2 separate regions of the Homo sapiens genome follow, and region 2 is linked to region 1. The links are contacts of gene promoters, found by promoter capture Hi-C in human tissues and cell types (Jung and others, 2019). All regions are on one chromosome and are shown on one strand. The core of a region is centred on a gene start or on the middle of the fragment in contact, and the rest is flanking DNA. Distances in the headings are between cores, read along the strand shown. Region 1 holds the start of SDK2 (sidekick cell adhesion molecule 2). Region 2 overlaps MTNAP1 (mitochondrial nucleoid associated protein 1).

Evidence for each region. The method cuts DNA at HindIII sites, captures the fragments that hold promoters and counts their contacts. A contact is called where the count stands out against the background at its distance.
Region 2: a contact is called between a fragment that was not itself captured here and the fragment with the promoter of SDK2 in region 1, in 2 of the 25 tissues and cell types used here (hippocampus and thymus).

Annotation. Positions count from the first base shown.
Region 1 is chr17:73,641,927-73,645,837 of GRCh38, forward strand. SDK2 (sidekick cell adhesion molecule 2) reads right to left here and starts at 2,519. Exons shown (of 45, transcript NM_001144952.2): 1 at 2,099-2,519. The coding sequence starts at 2,162. LOC124904054 (a long non-coding RNA gene) reads left to right here and starts at 3,548. Exons shown (of 2, transcript XR_007065893.1): 1 at 3,548-3,768; 2 at 3,895-3,911. The HindIII fragment of the contact is 11,047 bases long and covers 1-3,911 here.
Region 2 is chr17:73,238,635-73,242,409 of GRCh38, forward strand. MTNAP1 (mitochondrial nucleoid associated protein 1) reads left to right here. Exons shown (of 6, transcript NM_001351264.2): 4 at 3,610-3,717. It also overlaps a transcript of CPSF4L not described here. Among named protein-coding and RNA genes, the nearest start is that of MTNAP1, 8.1 kb to the left of the region's middle. The HindIII fragment of the contact is 5,599 bases long and covers 1-3,775 here.

The DNA of each region.
Region 1 (3,911 bases), core at 1,269-3,768:
GACACACACAGCAGGAGAGGGCTCGATGCTGGAAAACACTCTCGGAGCCAGAGAACACGAGCGGAGCAGCAGGGGACCTGGGCAGCCTGACACGCAAAAAGCCAGCAAACAAGAAAGGCAGAGAGGAAGTGAATCAATCACAGAGACTTTCTCTGCTTCTGACAGGGAAGCCCCTCCCGCAGGAGGCGCAGGGACAGGGGGCCACCTGGCCTTAACTTCAGCAGGAGGGGTGGGATCTTGGCCTCAAGTGGATGGCACAGGTGTGGACGTGGGGCAGGAAGGGACACATGAAGACCCCAAAGCAAGGGCCATCAGGTGCCCTGGGGACTCTATAAGGGCCTGGTCCTAGATGAGACAAGAATTGGTGAGCCACCTGCCCAGGGAAATCATACCATTGTTGAAAAGTCTGTAGAGCAATGAAGTTAGAAGGGTCCAGACAGATGCTGGCATCCCGTCCCTCCACGCCGTCCAGGCTTTTGGCTAGTAACACTGGTTGTCCCAGAGCACAACTGTGAGGCTGCTCCAGGATGAAGGACAACCCATTCCTATTCTGCCAGCATCAGGGTCCTCCTGGGACCCCTCAGAGAGGGGGCCCAGACCAAGGAGACCCCATGCAGCTAGTCCTGGTTTGAGGGAGAGAGGCTCAGAACTCATCTGGTTCCAGACCTGCCTCTGCCCCCAGATCACAGAGTGGCCTTGGGCAAGTCATTTAATGCCATTTGGCCTCAGTTTCCCTATCTGTTAAATGGCTACTAGAATAAGATGACCTCTGAGGTCCTCGCTTGTTCAAAGATTTTATGATGATCATAAAAATAATAACTTTTATTACCCTACATTTATAGGGCTCGTTACAAAATTTCGAAGTGCTTTTATGTAAATTACCTCGTAAAATCCTCCCCTCAGCCCTGTGAGTGAGAGCTGATTATTTTCATCTCTTTGATCTTGGCTCTCTGGATTGCCTGGCGCACGAGGCGGCGTGGGGAGTGGGTTGCAGCCCCCACAGTCCGGACCCCTAGGGTGGGTCTGGCCCCCTCCTGAGCCTGCGAGAGTGAAGGCCTAGCCCTGCGAGTCCTGGAGCTCGGTCCAGGCTTCGTCTCCCTCCGCCCCCAGCAGGCGCCGCTCGGACACCGCTGACACCACTGTCTGGATCGGCGAACCCCAAAGTCGAGGAACCGCCGGTGCAGCCGCCCTTCACCTCGGGGACCTGCCCGGGGACCAGGGGGACGTCTGGGCATCCACCCTCAGGAAGCGGGCAGCGCAGATCACACCTCGGATCCTTCGTAGCACTCCCAAACCCAAAGCCACCAGCCCTTCTCCACCGCGAGGCTGCTCCCGGCAGCCACAGGTCACAGCAGCGAGCGGCTGCACAGACTATCGAGCGAACAGCGGAGGCTGGAGGCAGGGGCGGGGATGCTGGGTGTGGGTGGATGGGTAGGAGGGGAGGCCTCAGACCCTCCCTGTGCACCACCCCCCGGTGGGTCCGCGGCTGCACCCGCGACCTTGGCTCCAGGCCCGCGCAGCGAAGCACCCCCAGCCCCAGCGGCTGGCCGAGCAGCCAGGGGCGGGCTCCCGTACGTGGCCAAGCCGGGCAATTGCTCTCCCCGGGCGAGCAACCCGGCATCCAGCGCTCGCCCACCCCACTCCCTCGCCCCGGGGAGGCCATCGCCTGCCCGGCAGGGGCCCTGCCCTTCCCCGCAGACACCGAGCAGGGAACCAGGAGCTCGGTCTGGGAAGCTCAGCGTAGCCGAGCGTGGAGCCCGGCACGGAATGTCGCTCCCCTCCCAAGCCGGCGCAGGGCAGCCACAGCAGACGGGGGGAGGGGAGCGCCCCTCCCACTTCACCTTGGGCTCTTCTCTGCCTCCCCAGGTCGTCCCCACCTTCCCCCATTCGGAAGCCACAAGTCTCGGAGAGACTGCCCCACCCCCAAAAGAGCCCCAAAACTTGGGAGATGGGGTGTCTTGAAACTCCCTGGAGAGGGCTCTGCCACGGCTAAGCCGGGTGTCCAGGAGGTCACCGTGAGGCCGGCCAGCTCCCGCCGCCCCTCCCCCGCCCACTCTCCCAGCCCCCTCCCTGTCCCCACGTGGGGGTCCCTCCTTACCTTGGGCTCTGGCCGCGCGGATCTGATGCAGAGCTAGCAGTGTCCAGATCAAAAGCCCCCACATGGTGACCAGCCTGGAGAGGGGTCCTCGGGGTCTCCCTTCCCTCCGCCCTGTTTTATAATCCTGGTGGGGTCCGATACCCCGTGGCTTAGTCCCAGGAAACAGTCAGTCTACGCGGCTCCGTGCCCCGGGGTGTAATATGCCCGGGAGGGGCAGCGCTTGGCTACCCCAACCCTTCCTCCTCTTCTGTACTAGTCCGAGCCCGGCAGCGCGCCCGGAAGGCGAGGGGCGAGCAGGGAGAAAGAGGCCAGGCCGCCCTCTCGGACTAGGGCGCCTCTCTCCCTTAGCACCCCAACTCCGACTTCTCCCAAACAGGGCGGCCTCTGCGATCCGGCCGGGTCGCCGGCCGAGCTCCGGAATAAATGGACAACTTCAGGAAACTTCCTCCCGTGGCCACGTTGCCCGCCCCCTCCCCGCCCCCTGGTTGGGTTCTCCCGGCCGACGCAGTCACCGCCGTTCCAGGCGCCGGGCCCCCGGGACCCGGCCAGAGCCGAGCGCAGTGGCAGACGCGGGTGCGGGGGTTCTTTTAGGGGCGCCGGTTTCGGGGGACGCGGTGAGCATAGCGGTCCGAATCTCCCTGGAGCTGAAGTTTTCTTCTCTCTAACTTTGCAGGCAGCATCTGGCGGGGCCGAACCACCCCCTCTGGGCTCCACCGCCCTCGCGCCGAATCGGGAGACGCCGGGTCTCCTCCGGGGGCGCTGGGGCCGGGCGCGCCCTCGGCTCCGCGCCCAGCCGGCTAGCAAACTTTGCGGGTCCCGGAGCCGGGCGCGCAGCCCTGAGCGCCCATGTCCGCGCCAGCCGCGGGGCGGCGGGGGAGGGTGCTGGGCTTCGCGACGCGGGCTGTCGCCGGCGCCCGGGCGCAGAGCCTCCTGCCGGCCCGAGGATGGAGACCGGCGGCTCTGCCCTCCGCCGCGCCCCGGCCGGAGCTCTCGGGAAGACGCACGGAGAGCCCGGCGGGCAGCCCCGGCTCCGGGGACGCGGCGCCCCTTCGGACGCCCGGCGATCGCCGACCTCCCGGGCCGGAGGAGCAACGGCCGCCCCAGCGCCTCGGCCGCCGCTGCCGCTCGCCGAGCCCGCCGCCCTCCGCTTCCCGGGCTCGGCGTCCAGAGAGCCGCTCCTGCCTGCGCCGAGCCGGAGCTGCGGGGGCAGCGTGAGCCGGGGACGAGCGCGGCGGAGGCGGAGACGCGGAGAGGGGGGCCGAGCGCTACCCCGTGGCCGCGACTGGAGAGCAGCCTGCGCGCCGGGAGGGGCGGCGGCGGCGGCGGCGGCCCCGAGCCAGGCCCGGGAGCGAGCCCCGCAGAAATACAATCCGACTGCGCGGCCGCGGGCGCCCAGCGGCTCTGGGACCCGCAGGGGGGCAGCAGTGCCAACCTTCTGCCGCGCCGGGAGAGATGCGCGCGAGCCCCTCCGCTCTCTGCCCAGCCTTTCCTTCCAGCCTCGCTCGCGCCCCTGTCTCAAAGGCCTCATAGGACTCCCAGAGTCTCCTATAGTCGGGAGCCCCCAGCCCCCTTCCGGACATGGAGTGATTGGTGGGGAGGCGGCGGTTGGGAAAAGGGGGTCGGTCAACCGATTGATTCCAGTTTCCCCTTCCCAAGTCAGGCTCTCCAAGGTCTGGAAATGCTCAGGGCGGAGGGGGAGACATCGGGAGGCCTGGGACCTGCAGAAGCCTGAGAAAGTGAAGTTGGTGCCAAGGAGCGTGCGTTCTTTGTTTCTTCTTTTTTCCTTCGGAGCCCAGCTTGTAAAGAGTAGAAG
Region 2 (3,775 bases), core at 451-2,950, 400 kb before region 1:
TTAACATTTGTGTTGCTTTGTGGTTTTCAGAGTGCCTCCATCTGTATTTTTTTTATTTTGGGCACAAGGTGGACAGAGAGGTGGGCAGAGTGAATTTATCCTATTTTGTGGATGATGAAACAGGCACAGAGAGCATAAGTGATTTGTCCAAGTTTGTGTTGCCAATAAATAGTAGAGCTGCAAGGAGAACCTAGTTTCCTGAGGCCTAGTTTAATCTTTTCCACTAAACCATGTTGTAGAAAATACACCATAACTAAAACCATGTTTGTTATAGTGCCATACTTTTCTGTGTGTGTGTGTGTTTTGTTTTTTTGTTTGTTTGTTTTTTGAGACAGAGTTTTGCTCATTGCCCAGGTTGGAGTGCAGTGGTGTGATCTTGGCTCACCTCTGCCTCCTGGGTTCAAGCGATTCTCCTGCCTCAGCCTCCCAAGTAGCTGGGATACAGGTATGCGCCACCACGCCCGGCTAATTTTGTATTTTTAGTAGAGATGGGGTTTCTCCGTGTTGGTCAGGCTGGTCTTGAACTCGTGACCTCAGGTGATCTGCCCGCCTCAACCTCCCAAAGTGCTGGGATTACAGGTGTGAACCACCGTGTCCAGCCTTCTGTGTTTTTCAGTTGCAGATGCACACACTCCCCCCATGATAAATCTCTCTACCAAATTGAAGGACTTGTGTATTTTCTGTACTACATTTTATAGTGCTTAGGAGTGTCCTTGATACACACTTTTCATTTTAGAGGAAAAAGTGAGGGACCTGACGTTTATCTGTGATGACTATGACTATCGTTATGCTAGATACATTATGTCATTTAATCCTCATAACAGCTCTGAGTGACACCACTGTCCCACCCTCTTATTCCTCTTGAGGAATCTGAGCTTCAGACATCTTTTTTTTTTTTTCTTGAGACAGAGTCTTGCTCTGTCTCCCAGGCTGGAGTGCAATGGCACAATCACGGCTCACTGCAACCTCCACCTCCCAGGTTCAAGCGATTCTCCTGCTTCAGGCTCCAGAGTAGCTGGGATTACAGGTGCCTGCCACCACGCCCAGCTAATTTTTTTTTTTTTTAAGTAGAGATGGGGTTTTGCCATGTTGGCCAGGCTGGTCTCGAACTCCTGACCTCAGGTGATCCTCCCGCCTTGGCCTCCCAAAGTGCTGGGATTACAGGTGTGAGCCACCAGGCCTGGCCTGAGCTTCAGACATTAAGTGACTTCCCTATGTTCATGCAGTAAGTGACAGAATCAGGATTCAAACCCAGGTTCGTCTGACTCTACTAACTATTCCAAACAGTGAACCTCAAGTTGAGTTTAAAGACCACAGATAGAAGAGTCAGGTGAACCTGGAGGTATTAACTACTAACTCTCCCAAACAGTAAGCCTCAAGTAGAGTTTAAAGACCACAGATAGAAGTCAATACCTTGTTTGATATGTTATTGATACATTTCACTGTTAGCTCCTAAGAATACAATAATAAGATACAGTAACTTAAAACATTAAATTACCAAGGTTATGAGACAGGATATAGGAGGGAAAATAGAATTTTTTCTTCAGTAACAAGTTCCTTCCAAATAGTGGTGAGAAACTATTTTAATCCCTTTTATTGCTCATAGTCTGTAACTAATAAATGTTGTACTTAGTTTGGGACTTCTACATCAAGACAGTAAATAAGGTGTAATCATCATAGGGCCTCTACTTCTATTATAAACTGAAAAACTATTGAAGTTGGATCCAGGATCAGTGTTCAGACTTTGATGTTACCACCAAATGAACACAAGATACTAGAGGAGAGAGACCCTAGGATCAGGTCAAGCCCTGATCCCTCCATTGGCCAAGGACTTCAAGGCCATATCAATCTATAGGGATTAAAAGATGGTGCCATTGGCTCCTTAAAAAGCTTTGTAATTTCACCAGGCAATGACTGTCTCCAATGACTGCAAATTAGAGTTTTATTGGAATCTTTGCACAAGAGAATGGGCTATACCTTTTCTCACTCAGGCAAGACCTTTGATAGGTCATTTGCCCTTCTCAGGAAGCCAACTCATTCCTTTGGTACTTAAAAGGCAGGGCCAGTGAGCTAACAGTTACTGAATTAACTGCAGGTCAGGACAGTAGGCTCACCTGACTGGAGAAAGCAGGGCAAGGTCAGGGAGCCACGTGATCCTGACACTGCTGACAACATGGTTGCAATTTTCAGGAAGTTGTCTCTTTACACCGTTTTCCTCAAATTTTTTCCAAGATGAATGGGTTTTTTTTTTAAGAGACTAACCTTCACCTTGCAAGAGAATTATCTTCTGTGCAATTTCTTGGAAGCCAGCATGATTCTTTTCATTGTTCTTTAATGATCATTTGGATATTTTTACATCCACAGCAACTTTTACCACACTTGCTAAACCTGTTGTCGGTGTTTAATTTCTTCTTTATCTTGATGAACCAAACCAAGACTAGAGAACTATCAGTAGTAGAGATTACCTGTCATAAAACATGGAGAAAACCATGTACAGGAGAAATGTGATTAAGGAGCATAAGCCCTCTTTTTTTTGTTTTTGAGGCAGAGTCTTGCTCTGTTGCCCAGGCTGGAGTGCAGTGTAGCGATCTCTGCTCACTGCAAGCTCCGCCTCCTGGGTTCACGCCATTCTCCTGCCTCAGTCTCCCGTGTAGCTGGGACTACAAGCGCCCGCCACCACGCCCGGCTAATTTTTTCTGTTTTTTAGTAGAGACGGGGTTTTACAGTGTTAGCCAGGATGGTCTCAATCTCCTGACGTCGTGATCCACCCACCTCAGCCTCCCAAAGTGCTGGGATTACAGGCGTGAGCCACCGCGCCCGGCCTGCATAAGCCCTCTTTTCTGGTTCTGCTTAAGTTATTCATGCACTGAACATAAATAGGAAATGTTTGCTGGCCAATAATAGCGATAGGGTGATAGAACAGGCATGTTGACTGTGGGCAAGTCACAATCATAAAAGGAGAAAGTCACGCTTTTAGCTGACATGTTTAGCAGATGATAGAATATGTAAAAGAGGCCAGGCGCAGTGGTTCATGCCTATAATCCCAGCAGTTTGGGAGGCTGGGGCGGGCAGAACACATGAGGTCAGGAGTTCAAGACCAGCCTGGCCAAAGTGGCGAAACCCCGTCTCTACTAAATAACAAAAATTAGCCTGGCGTGATGGCGTGTGCCTGTAATCCCAGCTACTCGGGAGGCTGAGGCAGGAGAATCACTCGAACCCAGGAGGTAGAGGTTGCAGTGAGCCAAGATCATGCCACTGCACTCCAGCCTGGGCGAGAGAGTGAGACTGTGTCAAAAACAAAAAGATGATGTAAGAGACTCACTTCATGAAGCACATGCGCATCAATCACCTGGCCAGGGTACTCAGCAGACCAAAAAACAAGTAGACGCCCTGATTTTCAGGGGTCCCTTGGCCTTTTGAAAAACATTTTTTCAACCTGTAATTGATTTGACTTTCAACACTTAGCTGCAGTCCAATGCAGAAATCTTTAATGCACCTGTTTAGAATATGCTCTTCCTGAGGCTTAGCCGTGGATCCTTCGGCACTGGATGTTAGGGAAGGGGGTACGTTTCGGTAAACAATGACAGTGACTTCTGTTTGGAACCATAGTTTCTTTGTTGGAACGAAGCTCAACTCATATAAGGAGTTTGGAACCCCCTGCCGGACTTACAACCTCCAACTTCTCTCTAATGAGGCTCTTGGGAGCTGTACAAAAAGGTGAGGCTGGAGTTTGACTGTTGTCTTCTGTTGCAGGTTCTGGGCATTTGGAAAAGTT